6 separate regions of the Homo sapiens genome follow, and all the other regions are linked to region 2. Evidence: promoter capture Hi-C in 16 types of primary human blood cells and fetal thymus (Javierre and others, 2016). All regions are on one chromosome and are shown on one strand. The core of a region is centred on a gene start or on the middle of the fragment in contact, and the rest is flanking DNA. Distances in the headings are between cores, read along the strand shown.

Region 1 (3,106 bases), core at 601-3,100, 390 kb after region 2:
TCAGCTGTAACATTTTGGTTAATTTTATTTTTCTTTCCTTAGCCTCCACTTCTCCTCCAGAAAACAGTCAATAATATGAATCTCTATCAAAGAGATGTGGTAAGGATTAAACAAAACAAAGCATGTAAAGCATTTGCCACCATAACTGGCACATAGTTTATGTTCATTAAATGTAAGCTTATTAGTAAGAAAATTATGTTAAAATGAAAATATAGTAACAAAATAATGAATAAATTCTAAGAGTCAGGTAAAATTTCTTTCTAATAGTCTAAGCAAAGAAAAAGAGGTATTAAGACAATAACAGTAGTAAAGATTTAGGTGAAGGTCTCCATATCAGAAGTGCAGGAAGCAAGTACAGTTAGATATAAACATTGTACTCACTTCCCTTATCCTCCTATCAATGGAAGCAATCCCACCTGTTCACTCAAGTCTCTCTGGAGAAAAAGTGGTTTACAAGAATAAACCCATGTCTACAGTGTCGGCTAGACAGATCTCAAATACACATAACAAATTCATACTCTCTGCTGCCAAGATCATATTTTTAATTCCTTCATAAATTTAATCATTAATAATATAAAGAAATTCCCATTTGAGTATTTGTAATGCTAGCAGATGCACACTTACTTCTGATTCTTCCAGTTTCCAGCAATGGGTCACTAATCAGTTTATTTATTTATAAAGAAGATGAGCCACATCTTTTAATTAGCTAACAGTCATGTGTGTTCAACTTTCGTTTCTTTCTTTCTTACTAAAGTTGACCCAGTATAAGAATTTCTTGAAACTAATGAGCCCCTCCCACCTTTGCTCTGTGGCTGAGAGAAGTGCCCAATGTGAAGTGGGCACATAGATGCTGCGAGAAGGGAACTCATTCATAATTTTCTATTAGAAACAGTGATGGAATTGCAGAAACTTTTGTTTCCTTATACATTAGGTTATTTGTCATATTTTCTATAAAAAACTTGCATTACTTTTAAAGATTCAAAATTTTAAGCACACGGTCTAGTAAGTATATGAAAGAAGAATCAGTAAATAGTTCAAGAATAGTATAAATATTCTAAAACTTCATAAGTTCTTTTTTGCTATCCAAAAAAAAGCCACACAAAATTAATTGACTGTCCACCAAACTATTTTATTTACAATTGCTGCTGAAAACAACTTTAAAACTTTTTTTTAAAAAAAGGTCATTACTATTTTAAAATTAAGCATAATCCCAGAACTAGACTCACATAGTTTTTAAATGATGATGGAAAAGGGTATCCTTATATAGTACATTGAAGAGTGTATACTGTTCTAATAAGATAAGCTTTGTTTTGAATTCTTAGTTCTTCTATTTCCTAACAGGGTAAACTTGGGCAAGATTGTTAACTTCTCTATCAATTTTTACAACTATAAAATGATAATAGTTCACATTTTAGTTATTTGGCTTGCTGTAAGAATTAAAAGAAAAAAATATGGCACAATACCTCACACATAGAAGCCATTAAATATGAGTGGTAGCATAATTATTCAAAGGAAGAAACACTATTCAAAGAAGGAAGATATCGTTTACCAGCCTTAAAGATTCCATACATGGAAAAACGCCTTATCTATATTACTTTTATAATATACAATGGGTTTTACGGGAAAACCCAGATTTAAAATATAAGCACTTTCTACTTCTGAGGTAGAGTCTGAGGTAATTAAACAGCATCAAAAGATTCAACTAGTTTAAACCAACATATGTATAATTCTGAACTAATCAGCATCTCAAAACATTTAAGGATTTTTTTTAAAAAACCTATCCAGATTTTTTAAAATTTTAGACTAAATATAGTAACACACCTGCTAAAATGATTCCTTATAACAACATTCTCTTATCTGAAATTCTGTTAATAAAAGTAGAACAGAGAAGCCAAAAAGATTTTACTAAGGCATAAAAAGCAGCAGGGTGGTGGTGATGACAGGAAGCTCCAGGGTCAAGATACCAAATGTTAAGAGTATGGAGAAACAATTGGCTGGGCACAGTGGCTCATGCCTGTAATCCCAGCACTTTGGAAGGCCAAGGCAGGCGGATCATGAAGTCAACAGATCGAGACCATCCTGGCTAACATGATGAAACCCCGTCTCTACTGAAAATACAAAAACAACATTAGCCAGACATGGTGGTGGGCACCTGTAGTCCCAGCTACTCGAGAGGCTGAGGTGGGAGAATGGCTTGAACCCAGGAGGCGGAGCTCGCTGTGAGCAGAGGTTTCACCACTACACTCCAGCCTGGGCGACAGAGCGAGACTGCGTCACTCCAAAAAAAAAAAAAAAGAATATGGAGAAACAATTAAACTAATCCTTCATATTGTAAGATGATACCTGAGCTTTGATTTCTAAAAGGTTGTGATTCGATGACTTCCAGCCAATATACTTTGAAGCTTAGAAAGAAATTACCATGGAAACAAATGAACTAAAATAACACTATAACACCATGAGATAAATGGTTGTGCACAATTCTACTTCTAGATATCTACCCTAGAGAAACACACATACATGTGCTCAAGAAAACATATACAAGGATGTTCATTACAGCACTGTTTATGATACCCCCAAATGTAATGCCTATTAATAAAAGAACACATAAACAGAATGTGACATTCCATATCTGGAATATCACAGAGAAGTTTAAAGGGATGGACTAGATTTATATAAGATCTGACTCAAATCAACTCAACTTGAAAGAAAGCAAACAAGTAACTTAATAATACATGCATTATGATACTATTACCATAAAAATTCTCTAGGTGTGTTTGTGTGTGTGTGTCTGGAAGAATATTCCCCAAATCTGTTATGGCCAGCAGTGGAGCAGAGAGGTATAAAATGCGTGGGATCGATGTGATGGGCAAAGAGGAATTTAGCTTTATCTGTCCTGTTCTAACCCTCCAAAGGGAGGCTGAATTTATTTATTGTTAACTTAAACTAATTAAAGAAGAAAAATGCCTGAAATCTTTGATCATAAATGATGAAAACATTTTACTAGCCAAATAGAATGTTTATGGCTTTAAACTGTTAGATAATATCTATAATATTGTGACTATTAATAGGAAATAGAACATTAAGGTTTTTTTGTTTGTTTGTTTTT
Region 2 (3,466 bases), core at 95-2,594:
TCTTCTGAAACTTTAGAAAAGTTTGCACCCTATAATCCTTTAACTGGTTACAGTTAAAAGGGGTAATGAAGCATATATTTTAATTCAGGTTTAGATGTCAGAGGAATCTAAGACACTAAAGAAGTGGGTCCATCGACAGGACAACAGATGGTATCTGGCACTGCAGTGGCAACTTGAACAGTTTCACATTTCACCCATCACCTTAATTTCTATCTTACCTTATGTCCTCTGTAAAAGGCAATTTCTTCTACATTGGCTATAATTCTCGAGTGCACATACCGCAAATAGCCTTTTCTATGTGCTTCCTCTGCCACCAGTTTGCCAAATTTGGGAGAACAGGCTTTTAACACTTTAGCAGTGGCATACACCACAAGTCCTGCTAGTAGGGTGGGCCCAATTGGGCTTGCTCCTCTGGATGTAGCAGTTTGAATGAGTGTATAGGAGGTCAGCATTACATCTAAAATAGGTTTGGTCAGATTGGAATACAAGTGAGCCACAGATTGGGAGAACATCATAATATCCTCCGTAAGAGATTGGTCAGGGTTTGCCAGCCTCCCATCCATATTGATCACTTTATAATAAGTCTGATTTGTAAAATAGGTTTCATAGGCGTGGTCTACTAGGCGAGTTCTGAAGGCCAAAGCCAATTTGCATTCCAGGTACCTTATTGCACTGTTGACGAAGGTAGCAGGGATGGCAATCATAAGCCACTTGATTAATTTGATGATGAAAGTCCGAGGCTTCTTTTCCACAATGCTTTTCACGATTTTTCCATCCAGACCAGCCACATAGATAGAAAGAAAGGTTCTTGAGATTAGAGCCACTGAGTGCAGGCAGAGCCACCCTGTTTCAGTGGTCACAAGTTTTGGAAACAAAATTTTCCGAAGTTCTAGTAGCTGTTTGAAGAAATCTGCATTCACTCCAGGCGAAGGTTTTTCACAAATGGTCTCGGTGCAATGCAGTATTTCTGTGTTCTCTGCAGCAGGGTAAGCTGCTGCTTTTTTCTTCCCGTGGCCAGATTGCTTTAAACGCTTGCCAATGATGGGATAGAGGGTTTTCAGAGCATATGCCGCAGCCACCAGGCAGGCAGCCCTCTTAGCAGCACTCGATCTGGTCCATTTCACTCGATCAGCTGCTGCATTTAGCATATGTGTCATTTTCCCAGTTACCCAAACCGGCTTCCAAAAGAATTCGTTTTAAAAGATCATGCTTCACAGAAATCCCCAGCAAATGTTTTAGAAAGTCCTACAGCGTCCCATAGTCTGCAGCGTTTCTCTTCCACTGTTGTGTTTTTAATTTTGTTCTGCTGTGACAGATGCAGCAGAGCTCAGACTCCGCTGCATCTACCGGGAATGATTCTCTCAGAAGCTCAAGCTGCACCAAGCTCCTCCCTCCCAGGCCCCTCATTGGCTGTGAGGGCGGTGGGACCTTGGAATCCTCGCAGCTTCCCTTTGAACCTTGAAAATGAGGAGAGAGCAAAGCGAATTACATCCTTCCTTAAACAGGAGTTCAGAGAGTTAAAATGTCTATTTTTGGAGAGGTCGAATCAGGCCATCTGCTGGCGAACAAAACCGGCTCTAGCTACTGAGCATGCTCAGTGTCACTTAGAAACCCACAGAAGTTTCAGAATATACATCACTTCGGTAAGATTTCAGTAGATACCGCAAACAGAAGAGCAAGCAGAAAGGGAGATTTCCAAGCGAACAAAACCGGCCCTAGCTACTGAGCATGCTCAATGTCACTTAGAAACCCGCAGAAGTTTCAGAATATACATCACTTCGGTAAGATTTCAGCAGCTACCGCAAACAGAAGAGCAAGCAGAAAGGGAGATTTGCAAGAGTTTTAATGAGACGAGGAGGGAGAAGGAACCACGAAAATGAGGGAGGAGGGACAAGAGGATCAACATAAAATGAATATGAAAAGGATATGGAATGAATCTGAAACGGATCAGAAAAGAAAGTGACAAGTGGGAGGGACACCGGAGAATGCCAAATATCAAATACACTTGGATCTGTTTTTCACAGATCCCCCCGGCTTTTTTGGGGGTCTGATTTCACAAAAGGTCTCAGAACCTAATAGACAAGTTGTAATCGAGGGTTTCCCTTGTAAATAAATAGGATAAAAGTCTTCCGTGTTACAGAAAATAATTATTTGCTATGCCTCTAGCCATTCTCCCTTTTTCCTCTGCATCCTACTTGTCCTTATGCTAAAAATCTTCCAGCCCCATAACTGGAGATCTGATGTACTCATATTTATTTACAAGGTGACGACTATTAAATAAATGAGAGCAATGTTTCATGTTTACTACTCCCATGTGTTAGGTAGTTTTTACTTGGAGTGGGGTAGCACTTATAGTGAAAGTTTAACCATTTGGGAATTCAGCTGGTGTTGGATGGTGGAAATAGCTTCTCTAGGACCTTACTTCATTTTTCAAGAATGCTTTGTCTTTTGCAGGTTTCTGCTTTGTTTGTTTTGTTTAGCTGTAGAGATAATCTACTGGCTACTTCCTATTTCCATTTGGTTATTTGATAAAAACTAAGAGTCTTAAAATTCTTCACATCCATAATGGAGGATTTAAATTGTTCAACAGTCAAGGACAATTCTGCATATTTTTGAAAATGTAAAAAGCTTTTTTTTTTTTTTTTTTTTTTTTTTTTATGAGACAGAGTCTCTCTCTGTCACCCAGGCTGGAGTGCAGTGGCACGATCTCAGCTCACTGCAGCCTCCGCCTCCCAGGTTGGTGCCTCAGCAGCCCGAGTAGCTGGGATTACGAGGGTGCGCCTACCATACTTGGCTAATTTCTGTAGTTTTAGTAGAGATGGGTTTTGCCATGTTTGCCAGGCTGGTCTCAACCTCCTGGCCTCAAGTGATCCACCTGCCTTAGCCTCCCAAAGTGCTCGGATTATAGACGTGGGCCACCACGCCCAGCCAAGAGCATTTTTTAAGTCAGGGCTGAGTATATTTTTGGATATGGAAAAACCATTTTTTTTGCTCTTCACTGTCCCCGCCCCCCATCTCATTAAAATTCTCGGAAATCTCCCTTTCTGCTTGCTCTTCTGCTTGTGGTATCTACTGAAATCTTACAAAAGTGATATATATTCTGAAACTTCTGGGGATTTCTAAGTGACACTGAGTATGCTCAGTAGCTACAGCCAGTTTTGTTCACCAGCAGCTGGCCCCCAACATACATACACATTTCCAGTCAATTAAAAGCTTAGGAAAATATGCATCAAGCTAGAACAGAAGTTGGCAAATTACAACTGGTGGGCCAAATCTAGCCTGCCACTTAATTTTATATGACCCTTAAGCTAGGAATGATTTTTACATTTTTAAAGTGGTTGAAAATACTTCAAAACAAGAATATTTTGTCCTGTGAAAATTATATAAAATTCTCATTTTTGTGTTTATAAATAAAGTTTTATTGGAAAACAGTCACACCCATTCATTTACTCTCTGTCTATGGCTT
Region 3 (3,393 bases), core at 435-2,934, 300 kb before region 2:
GTATGGCACAGTTATTTCCAGGAGATCAGGATGCCCTTTTTTCATTCTTATGTATTTTTATGTCATTGATTATTCAGTCTTTTGAGAAAAAAAATCTCAATATTAAACACAGTGTTTTATTACTTTAAAATGTTCTTAAATATTCAGAATATTAGGATTAATATTTTATATAAACTACCAAAGATAATAGAAACTTAATGATATTAGAAACATACAGCCATGGTATTTCTCTATTTGAATTAATCTATTCACATTTTGAAATATAAAATCAACTTTAAACAAGTTTAAGGTTAAATATGGCAAATTTGTACAACAGACTTGATCTGAAGGAGAGAAAAAAATAAACACTTATTTTTGTTCCATGCAAACCTGTAAGGTCTTTTGATACTGGAAATGAAATTAATTTCCTCTCCCTTCCCCTGCCTACCTTCTGGAGGATCTGCTGATGATCAGCAAAAATGGCCATAAAACAAGGAAAACAAGTGCAAAGAGGGAGGACATAAAATGATAATGGTGAAAGGGAATGAGACAGAGAGAAAGAGAAAGAGAAGTTAAGGACCCCCAGAAAAATCCATAAAATGAAAAAAAATAACAGTTATTTTTAAAGCTGCACCTATTCTTAAGAATATTTATTTTAAAAAATGCTTCCTTAGTGTTTATTTCCTATTCTTTTTAATTTTTGGTATAATAGTATCCTTTTTTTCTCTAGCATATTTTTATTTTTAATCATATAATCTTTTTACTTAAAATTGCTAAACCAACAAGAAAAAAATACCTTATCTACCTCACACACTTTGAGGCATTAGAAATACCTAATTGTTGAGAGTAAGAAATCTTCTTGACATCAATATTCATAAAACTTGATTTCTTTTAAAGAAAAGATTCAGATTACAGACAGAAAACAGGTATCACAATTTTTAAACTATTATACAAAAAAAACCACTACTTTATCTAAAAGGTATGACCACAAAAATGTATTAAAATTATCATGTTTAGAAATATTAGTGCATTTATATGATTTACAACAAGTGATGCATGCAACAAAAATGAGACTTGCTTAGAATTTCTAGGAAGGCACTTTAGAACATCAATGAAATTCCAGAATGTAGGAAAGGCAGGAAAGAAAGTACCTGTGTACCTCCGAGAGAGAGGAGTCACTTTCATCAGACCTATAGTGAAAGAGTTAGAATTATGAGAGAAAGAATACAGATGTCAACAGGTAAGGACACTGACTTTGGACTCAAAATCAACAGCATGAATAACAGATATATAGCAAACATTTCCTTCATAGTGCCCTGCTTTTCTACTTGCACTGGATATTAGCATGTTTAAAGTATAGCTAAGTTACGTAAAAAGTTTGATATTTATGTCTTCTAGCAAGACTTTGGGGGCTAAAATTTTCTAATACTGATATACAAAATCTATCCTCACTTCTAAAATTTAGGCCTTGCAGAAGAATAGTATCAAGTACATGAGATATAGCACTTCAAGGTTTGCTCTATTTAATTTGACTAGTCCTGGAAAAATTTTCCCATTTCAATAACTGTTGATCAATTTTATTCACCTTGATAATTATCACTTTAGATATAGACTCTAATGTTGAAGTTACACAAAATAGATTGTGTTTTCACATAGAAAGCAAGTCACTCAAAATTTAATAACTTTTGGCTTTAACTTATCTCAAAAACACTGAGTTCTTTTGACTAGGGAGCATCTGAGTAACAGCTGGGGTACTTTAGTGGGCTTTTAGAATGGACAAGTCACTTCTGTTAGCCCTACCTTGAGGCCTCCAAGACTGCAGTGAGTCTGGTTATTAAGAAAATCTATTCGACTGTACAACAGGCTTGAGGAGAATGAGGATATGGTGAGCGTTAGCATAGAATGTAACCTGAAACAATGTGGGAGATCTGCGTCTTGCTAGTGGGATATGGTTGCTTCAAAAAGGAGCCCCAGAGAAAGTAATGTAAAGGGGTAGTCAAGTTTTTGAAAGTGTAGAGCAGTCAGTTATTCTACATTTTAGTTTATAGAGATGACAACAGAGTCAAATTATTGGTAGCTCATAAAGTATTTCAGTAAAAAATATGGAACTGTGATTAGGTTGTCAAGATTATCAAAAGATTGACAGAAAATATTCTGACTGTGAAGGCAAGGTAGACACAAATTTAGCAACTCTTCGTATACCTAGTGAAACTTGACTTCCCAAAAGTATTCCTAATGTTCAACTTTTCTCAATTAATGACAGAAATAATTTGACAATGTTAAAGAGTATTTTGTTTAATAACACAGGAAAATATTTACCTACCTAGATCAATGTAAAGAACATATCTTCTACTAATTAAACCATATTAAAATCTAATGAAGGATCCATAAATAAAAGAATTATCCATAAATTAAGTATATTTATAATTCTTTAAAAACTACGGTATGATTCTCTAAGTTTATAGAGCCATTTAAAATGATCTAAACATGCCAGACAGACAGATCTTAAATGGCATCCTATAAATTTTAGAGATTATTGATTTATACAGGGAGGCAATAGCAGAAAACAATCATTATCATTCCAAGTCCAAGCAGACAAGTCAGAGTTAATAAATACCTTATGGCAGTATTGTTAGTATGGCATTCTTGCAAGAGAGATTCTGGCTCAATGTGTGGATACTTTGTCATTTCAAATTTGATGACATTTACATTTTCCACATCCCTCCAACTTCTCCACCCCTGCAACCCACTCCCAGTCCTACTCTCTCCATCCGTAAAGGTGATTTTTTATTCCAAGAACACAATTATTGAAATTTTGTGGTGAACTTGTCTAGAACAATCAGATGACAAAAACGTGTTGCACTTGTAACAATGGTCTTTGTAAACTGTTATATCCCCCAGAAGTAAAGTAATTTGCCTCTTTCCAACTCAGGCTATCTAAATTAGAGGCTTTTGTGGGCTCACAGAAGCTGAAGAATCTCCAAAAATTTAAACATCAAGTGGTCTCAAAGATTTTTCAGTTCTAATTTACTTGTAAAAGAAAAGGCAAGACAAGTGCTGAAGGCATACCAATACAAATCTACAACAGGGAATAATGTTCAGCAGGAAAATAATTTTCTCTAATTTTGGCTGCATGGTTCCTTTCCCATTGGAAAGATGCATAAAATATGGCAAGAGTTCACACGTCAGGCTCCATCTCCTACACAGAGATGACTACATGTTTTCTACAGACTGTATTGACAGGTTCAGAATATTATATAAATAATTGGGGCTCTTTTCCATAATGACTTACTTATCCTGCTGAACTGATGTGTTTCCCTGAGAAACAGTAAGACGATTAAAAACATTCAGTTCATTACGGGGCCGGCTTGGTGGGGAAGAAGGAGGTGAAAGACTAGCCTCTGAAGTTCCAGA
Region 4 (3,216 bases), core at 63-2,562, 370 kb after region 2:
GAAGGAAGGGGGGGAGGAAAATGCTGCTAAAGAGGAAACCAAGTTGTTAAATTCATAGCTTATGACCAAAGCTTAAGATTTTTATCATATATAAGTCAAAAACCTTTGAGTCATCTTTCATTCCTCTTCTTCTAATATCCCCATCCAATGCATCAGTAAATATTGTTAACTCTATACGTCGCCTCCTCTCACAACCCCCATAGCAATCACCTAGGCCTAGGCCACCAGCATCTCTTTCCCAAATTATTCCAACAGCCTCCAATTTAAGGGGCCAGATTCCACCATTGTCTCACTCCATGTACTCTGAGCGCAGGAGCCAGATGAGCCTTTGTAAACCTAAGTCTGCTGTGTCAGTCCTCTACTCATAACCCTTCAGTGGCTTCCCTTCTCATTCTTGAATAAAAGCCTAAATCCTCACAGTCCCTACATAATCTGGTCTTCTGCCCTTACCCCCTGAAACTCTCCATGCCAATTCTGCTTTACCCACACAGACTCAGATAGCCACATGGCTCACTCTCCTCACGTATTTTAGTCTTTTGAATACATGCCACCTCTCTGACTTTCCTGGACCAACCTATAAAAAGGTGCAACCCTCTTGCCTCAATATCCTCAACCATCCTTTATCAATCTGCTCATTAAATTTTACCTTTTATCACCATTATCTGTTAACATTTATTACCACCTTCATATGTTTATGTGTTCCTTGGTCACCCCTCCCCACTAGAAATAAAACTTTAAGGCAGGCTTCCTTTCATTCATCACTGCCAAATCTTCAGTGCCCCCAATGGTGCCTGGCATGTAACAGGTATTCATTTTCTGAGTGAATGAATAATCAAAAATGGATGTCTTGCTCTGGCTGGGTTATGGAGAATGCCAGGGAAGAAGACACACACAACCAATGACACTGAAACTAGGTCTTAAAAGAAGATTCAGGCTTGACTGACATGGAAAGGGCTAAAAATATCATCGCCATATGCACAACTTTTTTTCCACAAAGTCTTGCATAAGAATACACTGTAGGGAAGCAGACTTTTAATGTTCTAGTTGAGAGAATCCCCAGTAAAGAAATTAATCCCCATGATCCAGAAGAGGATCAAGGTTTGGGTAAACAAAAAGAAAATTGCCACTGCTGTCAGGAAATTTTACAGATGAGAAATTACTGTAAAATACATCAAGCTCCTAAATAATGTAAATGTGTTCTTAGTGATCGGTTTATGGTTGCATCCACACTTGGGTTTTTTGGCCACAAAATCACAATTTTATTCTCCTGGAGTTTTCTCTGATAGGACTATAGCTCTAATTTTTAACAGGAAGCCAGTGAGGAGAAAATATTATTCCAAGTCTAGGACTCCTTCCTTTTATATACAGTTCTATTGTTCTATGTCTACTCTAGTAACACCTATGGCCATGTATTCTGGAGTCATAACGATCAAATATTAGTTCCTTTTATTATATAAAGTAGTCTTACACATATTTATTTACTTCTTTATTTCTCATCTTCCTCCCACTGGAAAGTGAGTTCCTTCTAACAGAGCAGGAATGTCTCTATCTCTTCACAATATCCCTGAGGACAGAAGAGGGCCAAGCACACAGAGTACTCAATAAATGCTCAATGATTGAATGAATAACATTCACATGAGAGATAAATACATATTTTACATGGGGAGTGTGGACTTTAACTTCTAACACATGTTCCAGCAGTGCATTCTCCTCTGAGTAAGAGTTCTTCTACTTAACAACATTATCAAAAGTACAAGAAGGATGTGCCCACACTTGGATTTCTGGCTGTACTGTATTCTGGGGATAGTATCTCAGCACACACCAGGGAAGCACAAAATCTGGGGAATGGGTGCTCTATTCACCCATAGTGCTGAACAGTGCTGAAGGAAACAGGGCAAAAGCAGGCAAAGGGATTTTCTTGCAACCCTGGTTCTAGGGCTACGACTAGGTGGTTGTGACACTGTGGGGGGCCTCCATTGCCCCCTAGTGGCAGCTGTGCTTGGGACACTTCAATATATTAATATCCATACTTTATGTATGCATTATATGATCACAGTTTAGAAACTTTAAGCAATGCCAACTCTCTCTACAACAAAAGCTCTAATCAGAGCTTTTCAAACCTCCAAACTCACACAAACACATACTCAAATTAGTCTCAATTGTATTCGATTCTCAAACCTAGGCTTCAAGGTTCAAGTCTCCTTTTTTCATCAACGGAGCTCTCTCTCTCCCCCTGAAGTGTGTGCCAAACACTGATTTTCCTCCTGTAAAGTGAAGGCTTGGACCAGATTAGGTCTTTCCTAAAAATCAATCTGTGAGCCTGTACTGGTCCACAGAGAAGTTTCCTCTGATTTGCAGACAGTTATCTTGTTCCTTATACAGTCTTAACTTCACGGAGTTCAACCATGAAAGACTGTGTTTTTCTCTACTTACTTCACACAGCAGTGCTTTGTAGAACTGCCCACAGTTTCTCATAGATAGCAGAGTTCTCAAATCCTTTTCCTCAATTTGTGTAAGTCCATTTGCTTTAAAACTTCAATCTTATATCTGGGTTAAAGCTTTTTCCTTCATCTCAAATGGGCTCCAAGTGACATCGTAGCCCTACCACATGATAGTTTTTCAGGCCACTCCAGTGCTCTGCTCCCATCATCTTCCGTGTTCACCCCACTCCCCTGCTGCCATCATGCTCCAGTGTTCCTACTTAAGTAGACACAGGAGGCAGATTAGCAAGGACGCCTCATAAGTGCATGTCTAGCTAGGCAATGGGATGTTAGCCTCTCCCAGTCAAGCAGGTCCCTCTCATGTTTACCAATGATTTTCTTGATCTGTATTGGTTGGTTTGGGATGTGAGGAAGACCCCTCTCTTCCCACATGGGTGCTCTCTTTAGAATACAGGCTACTTACCAGCCCCTTTGTCCTCTGCTGCTTTGGACCCCCACCCATCCACAGCATCAATTCAGGGCAATAAAAATATGTCCCACTCACCATCCTATTATTTTTTCTTGTGTGTCAGTATGAAGTTGCCTAATATTCTTTGTTTGAAAGTATTGTCCTTCATTTCAAGATTATATTCTACTATCTTTTTAAAAAAAAATGAAACGGTGATGGTAGTTGAGTTATTTTGTTTCTGATGTAAAATCAAAAGCTTTTATAGCTCACCCATCCTGCCCTTATAGCTCACACATCCTGATTTGGTGAGCCTGAATGTTCTGCAGG
Region 5 (3,576 bases), core at 680-3,179, 280 kb before region 2:
CTACTAAAAATACAAAATTAGCCAGGCATGGTGGCACGTGCCTCCAATCTCAGCTACTCGGGAGGCTGAGGTGGGAGAATCGCTTGAACCCAGGAGGCAGAGGCTGCAGTGAGCCAAGACTGTGCCACTGCACACCAGCCTGGAGGACACAGTGAGACTCCATCTCAAAAAAAAAAAAAAAAAAAAGAAAGAAAGAAAGAAAAGAAAACAAAAGAAAAAAGAAAGAACTTAGGTCTTAATTCCAGTTCTATCATTTATTCAATTCTGTGATCTTGGACAAAGTTTAAGAATGACAGTTCACTACAAACTTCCTTTCTAGTACTTAAATTCTGTTATTTAACAAATAATCACTCGTGTTTTGCATTCAAATTCAAACAGATCATTCATTTTATGTTTATGTATATTTCTGTCTCATCAGATGGGAATTCCTTGAGAAAATGACTTTATCTTATCACAGCCATATCTTAATTGCCTACCACAGTGACTGATATAAAAGCAAAATTAATATGTTTTTTAATTAATGAATTATCAGAAATTAAAATTATCATATAGTTTCAAACTTGTTACATTAAATTTCTTCCTATTAAAAACCAAATCTCAAGCTCATTCATATTTTTATATGGTATATAAATGTCACCCTGAACTTTCTAAGGGTTCAAAGATGAATATAACAAGGAACAATTTTAAAAGGAGGTCAATATGTACACAAGGCAACAAATAAAAGGGAGAGGGAGTATGAATGTTAGCTTTATATGTGACTAGCCAGCATTGTGTCTTTATAATAGAATATAGGCATCACATGTTATGGAAAAGATTCAAAAAGTTCATCCCAGGAGTTCAGTATTGGTCTCCCTTATCTTATATGAATTAGTAATAAAGAAATAGGTAGCATACACTGTAAAGAAATTATTCCCGTTGTTCAAAGGTTTTCATTAAATATAAAATAAACAGCCAAAAAATGGAAAGAACCCAAACGTCTATCAACTGATGAATGGACAAACAAAACATATTCTATCTATATAACCATAAAAAAAGAATGAAGTGCTGATACATGTTATAACATGGCTGAACCTTGAAAACATCGTGTTAAATAAAAGAAGCCAGACACAGCTGGGTGCAGTGGCTCACACCTTTGGGAGGCCGAGGCGGGGCGGATCACTTGAGGTCAGGAGTTTGACACCAGCCTGGCCAACATGGTGAAAACCCATCTCTACTAAAAATACAAAAATTAGCCAGGTGTGGTGGTGCATGCCTGTAGTCCCAGCTGCTCAGGAGGCTGAGGCAGGAGAATGGCTTGGACCTGGGAGGCGGAGGTTAGAGTGAGCCAAGATCATGCATTGCACTCCAGCCTGGGCGACAAAGTAAGACTCTGTCTCAAAAAAAAAAAAAAAAAAAAAAATCAAGACACAAAAGGCCACATCTGGTATGATTCAATTTATATGCAATGTCCACAGGGACAAAATGTAGATTAGTGGCTGCCAGGGGCCGGGGCAATGGTGAGTGACTACCAATGGGTATAGCGTATATTCCTGGAGTAATGAAAATTTTCTGTAATTAGATGGTGGTGATCATTGCACACTTTTGTGAATATACTAAAAACATGAATTGTACACTTTAAAAGGTAAATTTTAGGATAAGTTAATTATATCTCAACTTTTAAAACAATAACAAAAAAAGAATAGGCAATATGTTAGAATGTGCTTCTACTTGATTTCAGTAGGAACAAATCGATAAAAACACAATTTTAAATGCCCAGGAATTAACTGTGACAAATACACTGATTATTAAAATACACTGACATTGTAGGAGAAAAAAAGAAATAAACATAACCAAAATAGGGGAGTCATCTGGACAAAATATCCGCTATCCACTTTTCTACCTCACTACCCCCCTTTTCTCTATCCCCTTTCCTCTTTACATTCCAAAATAAATTTCCATTTTCTAAAATATGCTTTATGCTCGTATTTTTCCAGGGAGGATTTAGGAAAAGTTCAGCAAGTAAAAAGGAATAATGGCTGAAACCTAACCAATAATAAGGGAAAAAGTGATGGCCTCTTCTTTTTCAAAGAGGCAGTCTTGCTGTGTTGTTGTTCAGACTAGTCTAGAACTCCTGGGCTCAAAGCAATCCTCCGGCCTCAGTCTCTCAAAGTGCTGGCTGGGATTACAAGCATGAGCCACTGCACCCAGCTTCTTCTTTTAAGAAAAAAAAAATCATAACTATAATTTTTCACCTAAAAGAAATAATCACATTGCCAAAATTTTGGAAAGAAGAAGAAAAATAATCAACCATAACTTATAACCCTAACACAACTACAATTAGCACGTTGAGATGTATCCTTTGAATTTTCCTTCATTGAAATCAAGCATACATTTATTTGTAAAATGACCATGCTTTACACTTAATGCATGGTCATTTTTCAGATAAGTATACAGTTTCAAAATATAAATGGAATGTACCATAATTTCTTTAACCATTCCTCCTACTGTCAGGGATCTTGGTTGTTTTTACTTTTTTCACAATTACAAAGAATCCTACAGTGAAGATTTTGATGCATAGTATTTTTACTTGTTTTACATTATTTTCTTCATCTAAATTCATGGAAGTAGAATCTTGAGTCAAAGGATACAAAAATTTTGATAGTCCTTAGAAAAGCCTCTTCTAATAAGGGCTGGTTGTTAACTCTAGGATTATTTATAAGTACCTCTAGTGATAAAACATTCTTCAGAACCATCCTAAACTTGCTATCTTATATAATACTGCAACTAGTTCCTTGGTCATCCTAGAGATAACCAGTCATTCTTGCCATTTACTTCTATGTCATCATCTGGAAAATAAGCCTCAAATAAAATATATAATATTACAGTGTTTTTTATGAACTCTTATACTGAATTACCATAATCCACATACTGTAATAAATGACATTTTATAAAGTGTATGCTTATCTATTGTCCTTAACCTGCAATTAGTAGTTATGGTTACCAGAAATTTTTCCTCCATTTATTAAACAATCTTTTTCAACGTACAATTTTCTTATATAACTGAGAGTTAAAATCCACTTACATCTCTTTTACGTTGATCCTTTTTCAACTGAGCAATCTCTCTGTTTCTTCTAGACTCAGTCAGTCTGGCTTTCTCTTGTTCTTCTTTCATTTGTTTCATTAGGCGAACCTAACCAATTAGGTATAGACATCTATTGAAATTACTCTGTCACAACATTCATTAAATCAACCACATATATGGAAGTAAGTTCTTAGAATTCTGAATACTTAACATGGAAACATGCAGTTTTGCTGCACGTTTAAAGTGGGCAATTCTTATTTCTGTGGGATTCATATATTTCTATTTCTAATACATTTTTATTAAATTGCTTAGTATTCTATGCTTTTTGTATTCAATATTCAGTTGTTCTGCAACTTGAAATCTTGATACTTAGCTTACTATCAGTAGCTGTGTGACCTTGATCGAATTACTTTACCTCTCTAGGCTTTGGTTTGCTCATCTATAAAATGGAAATAATATTTCCACAGCATTGGATTTTTGTGAGAATTCAACCAGTTAACACCCACACAGCGTTT
Region 6 (3,129 bases), core at 359-2,858, 510 kb after region 2:
TAAGGTATACAAGTGAAGTATTAAAGAAGGAAATTGAATATTTTGTAAGTATAGCTTAAAAATATTTTAACATATTGAATGGAACCTATCAAACATTATTCAGAAACTGCTAAAATTTTGGCTCTGCACAGTGGCTCACGCCTATAATCCCAGCACTTTGGGAAGCCCAGACAGGAGGATCACTAGAGGCCTGGAGTTTGAGATCACCCTGGTCAACATAATGAGACCCCATTTCTACAAAAAAATAAAATAAATTATCTGGTTGTCATGCGCATGCCTCTAGTTCCAGCTAGTCAGGAGACTGAGGCAGGAGGATCCCTTGAGCCCATGAGTTCAAGGCTGCAGTGAGCCATAATTGCATCACTGCACTCCAGTCTGGGAAACAGAACAAGACCCTGTCTCAAAAATTAAAATTGGCTGGGCACGGTGGCTCAAGCCTGTAATCCTAGCACTTTGGGAGGCCGAGGCTGGTGGATTGCCTGAGCTCAGGAGCTTGAGACCAGCCTGCGCAACATGGTGAAAACCCGTCTCTACTAAAATACAAAAAAAAAAAAAAATTAGCCGGGTGTGGCGGTGTGCACCTGTAGTCCCAGCTACTCGGTAGGCTGAGGCAGGAGAATTGCTTGAACCTGGAAGACTGAGGCTGCAATGAGCCAAGATCATGCCACTGCACTCCAGCCTGGCAACAGAGTGAGACTCCATCTCAAAAAAAAAAAAAATTTAATTAAAATTAAATAAACTGCTAAAATGCAAAGTAGAATATATTTGTCTGTTGAACATAAAACTTTAAAGAAGAGCCTTAATAAACTGAATTTCAAGTTTTAATATCATAGGAAATGATTCTTTTGTCATGAAAAACTGTTCTTAAAGGTATAAATATCTCACATATAATAAGACCTTCCTGTTTTCATTATGAACTTTGTGCCACATTTCTATTGTCTCTTAAATTCCTTTGTTTTTAACCTACAAATTATCCTGTCATTGAGTTTTCAAGAACATAATTCTCAAGGTTGAAGAAAACTGTATATGTATATGTGTGTTTCTTTTATTAGACTCTGAGTTTCATGAAAGCAGACATTACATTATATCATTATATTCCTCATTACCTTCTATGGACTTGGTTTAGTGCTTGGAATAAAGTATGTTCTCCATAGTTACTCGCTAGGAAGTAGCAGTTGAACAAATTTGCTTGCTTTTCTTAAATAGAAATGTTCTCCAGTCCTTGTACACAATTAATCCCAGCATGAGGACCATTGGTTCTTGTACACAATTCTCAGAGACTTTTGGCTATTTAGCCTCTGGGTCCACCACTGACTGTTGTCCTTGATTCCTAGCAGATATGCCAGGGGCTTTTGGTCATAGTGGCACCAGAATTTCACAAAGAGACTGGGGAAACATACTATGTTTGCAAAAGGCAGCCTTAGAAGAAATGTTTGTCTACCTACTCCGTTATAGTTTACATCATGTAATTTTCATGGTTTTGCTTATTAATAACTTGCTTATTAACTATTTGCTTATTAATCTATTAACTCATTCATTTAACCATTCTTTTTTATGTATTTATTTAAATAGATACAAGGTCTTGTTCTGTTGCCCAGGCTAGTGTGCAGTGGCACAATCGTAGCTCACTGCATCCTCTAACTCCTGGGCTCAAGTAATCCTCTTGCCTCAGTATCCCTAGTACTTGAGACTCCAGGCACATGCCACCACATCCAGCTATTTTTTTTAATTTTTTAATTTTATGAGACAGAGGTCTTGCTATGTTGACCAGGGTGGTCTCAAACTCCTAGCCTCAAGCCATCCTCCTGTCTGGGTCTCCCAAAGTGCTGGGATTACATGTATGAGCCACCATGCCCAACTTAACCATTCTTTATTTTGTACCTACTGCATGCCAAGTACGATAGTAGGTCTTGTGATCACAGCAGTGAGCAGGAGAGACACAGTCCCTTCCCGCATAGAGCTTTTCTTTTGGTTTGGAATTAATTTCTAGTCTTAAGAAATAAAATAGGCTGGGTGCGGTGGCTCATGCCTATAATACCAGCACTTTGGGAGGCCCAGACGGGAGGATCACTTGAGCACAGGGATTTGAGACCAGCCTGGGGAACATAGGGAGACCCCGTCTCAACAACGACAACAAAAATGTGAAAATTAGCTGTGACCAGAACACGAGGCACCCTGCTAGGGGAAGGAAGGTGATGGAGAGTGAGATGCTTTTGGAAAAATAGCAGGGGTGAGATCTCTAGAGTCTTATGAACTTTTAATAAGTTTTTTGTTGAACCTGTTTGATGTTTTCCTCTCTTCTCTTAATCTTTTGAACTCTAGAATATGATACTAAATCATTAATTTAGTCTTCAATATATTGCATCTCTGCTCTTGCTAGCACTTTTAATTGCTACAGTGTAATAATAATTATTATTCATTTTTTAATTTCAAAAACAACTCATGTAATTTCGATTTTTACTGTTAATTCTGCTATCACCAGCTTCTCTGGGAGCTTTCAAGGCCTGCTTCTAAAATAATTTATCTAATGAACATTCCACCCATAGGTAATTTTGCATACATATTCTTACATTTGTTCCTTTGTTCCACAAGTTCCCTAAGGCAAGTTTTTTTCTCATTCCTACAAACAGACCATTGTTTTCACCACTTACCTCTCATGCCAACTGTAGCCCACCATGCCATTATAGTTATGTATTTTTCAAGATTACTTTATAATTTTTTAAAATTCCACTATTTATTTCTGCTTCTGAATTTCCTCATGTAGTCTTTTCCTGTTACTCAAAGAAACATACCTTTGAGGGGACTTTGGAGATTCTTTGACCTTCCACCTTTATTTTACCAACAAACTCTTTTAATTTATGATCCCTTATGCAATGTTTAAAAGCCTAATATATAATGCTTCCATTTCTTAGTATCTTTTCATTTAAAATGGCCTAACTTTTCACAATACCTTGTAGTGGTCAGTTTGATGTTATAAATGTTCATGCAGTCTTTCTTAGCCAAAGTTGAAAATAAAATATTAGTTTTTTAAAAACCCTACAAACTAAGGGTTAATTATCTATAAACTCCTGGGTAAACAACTTTGTTATTTGCAGGTCTTTTATACCAAATATATATTCAAGTTCATAA

Evidence for each region. Contacts are between HindIII fragments. The CHiCAGO score rates a contact against its expected background, and 5 or more counts as called.
Region 1: a fragment that was not itself captured here is called in contact with the fragment with the promoter of ABCD2 in region 2 in 4 of 17 cell types (naive CD4 T cells, total CD4 T cells, total CD8 T cells and 1 more); the score reaches 7.3 in naive CD4 T cells.
Region 3: a contact is called between a fragment that was not itself captured here and the fragment with the promoter of ABCD2 in region 2, in 5 of 17 cell types (naive CD4 T cells, total CD8 T cells, non-activated CD4 T cells and 2 more). The highest score is 10.8, in naive CD4 T cells.
Region 4: a fragment that was not itself captured here is called in contact with the fragment with the promoter of ABCD2 in region 2 in 4 of 17 cell types (naive CD4 T cells, total CD4 T cells, total CD8 T cells and 1 more); the score reaches 7.1 in naive CD4 T cells.
Region 5: a fragment that was not itself captured here is called in contact with the fragment with the promoter of ABCD2 in region 2 in 1 of 17 cell types (total CD4 T cells); the score reaches 5.2 in total CD4 T cells.
Region 6: a contact is called between a fragment that was not itself captured here and the fragment with the promoter of ABCD2 in region 2, in 2 of 17 cell types (naive CD4 T cells and activated CD4 T cells). The highest score is 6.2, in naive CD4 T cells.

What each region holds. Positions count from the first base shown.
Region 1 is chr12:40,006,334-40,009,439 of GRCh38, forward strand. All of the region lies in intron 3 of SLC2A13 (solute carrier family 2 member 13), which reads right to left. Among named protein-coding and RNA genes, the nearest start is that of SLC2A13, 98 kb to the right of the region's middle. The HindIII fragment of the contact is 1,099 bases long and covers 1,302-2,400 here.
Region 2 is chr12:39,618,459-39,621,924 of GRCh38, forward strand. ABCD2 (ATP binding cassette subfamily D member 2) reads right to left here and starts at 1,345. Exons shown (of 10, transcript NM_005164.4): 1 at 219-1,345. The coding sequence starts at 1,157. RefSeq lists enhancers at 747-826, 1,137-1,656, 2,886-2,965. The HindIII fragment of the contact is 3,952 bases long and covers 1-2,626 here.
Region 3 is chr12:39,314,802-39,318,194 of GRCh38, forward strand. It overlaps KIF21A (kinesin family member 21A), which reads right to left. Exons shown (of 38, transcript NM_001173464.2): 29 at 3,272-3,393; 30 at 1,131-1,169; 31 at 428-439. LOC101927019 (a long non-coding RNA gene) reads left to right here and starts at 1,131. Exons shown (of 3, transcript XR_007063276.1): 1 at 1,131-1,219. The HindIII fragment of the contact is 3,608 bases long and covers 1-3,393 here.
Region 4 is chr12:39,988,722-39,991,937 of GRCh38, forward strand. The region is part of intron 3 of SLC2A13 (solute carrier family 2 member 13); the gene reads right to left. Among named protein-coding and RNA genes, the nearest start is that of SLC2A13, 120 kb to the right of the region's middle. The HindIII fragment of the contact is 2,487 bases long and covers 70-2,556 here.
Region 5 is chr12:39,334,035-39,337,610 of GRCh38, forward strand. KIF21A (kinesin family member 21A) reads right to left here. Exons shown (of 38, transcript NM_001173464.2): 17 at 3,062-3,169. Among named protein-coding and RNA genes, the nearest start is that of KIF21A, 110 kb to the right of the region's middle. The HindIII fragment of the contact is 4,632 bases long and covers 1-3,576 here.
Region 6 is chr12:40,124,061-40,127,189 of GRCh38, forward strand. No RefSeq gene overlaps it. Among named protein-coding and RNA genes, the nearest start is that of SLC2A13, 20 kb to the left of the region's middle. The HindIII fragment of the contact is 3,304 bases long and covers 1-3,129 here.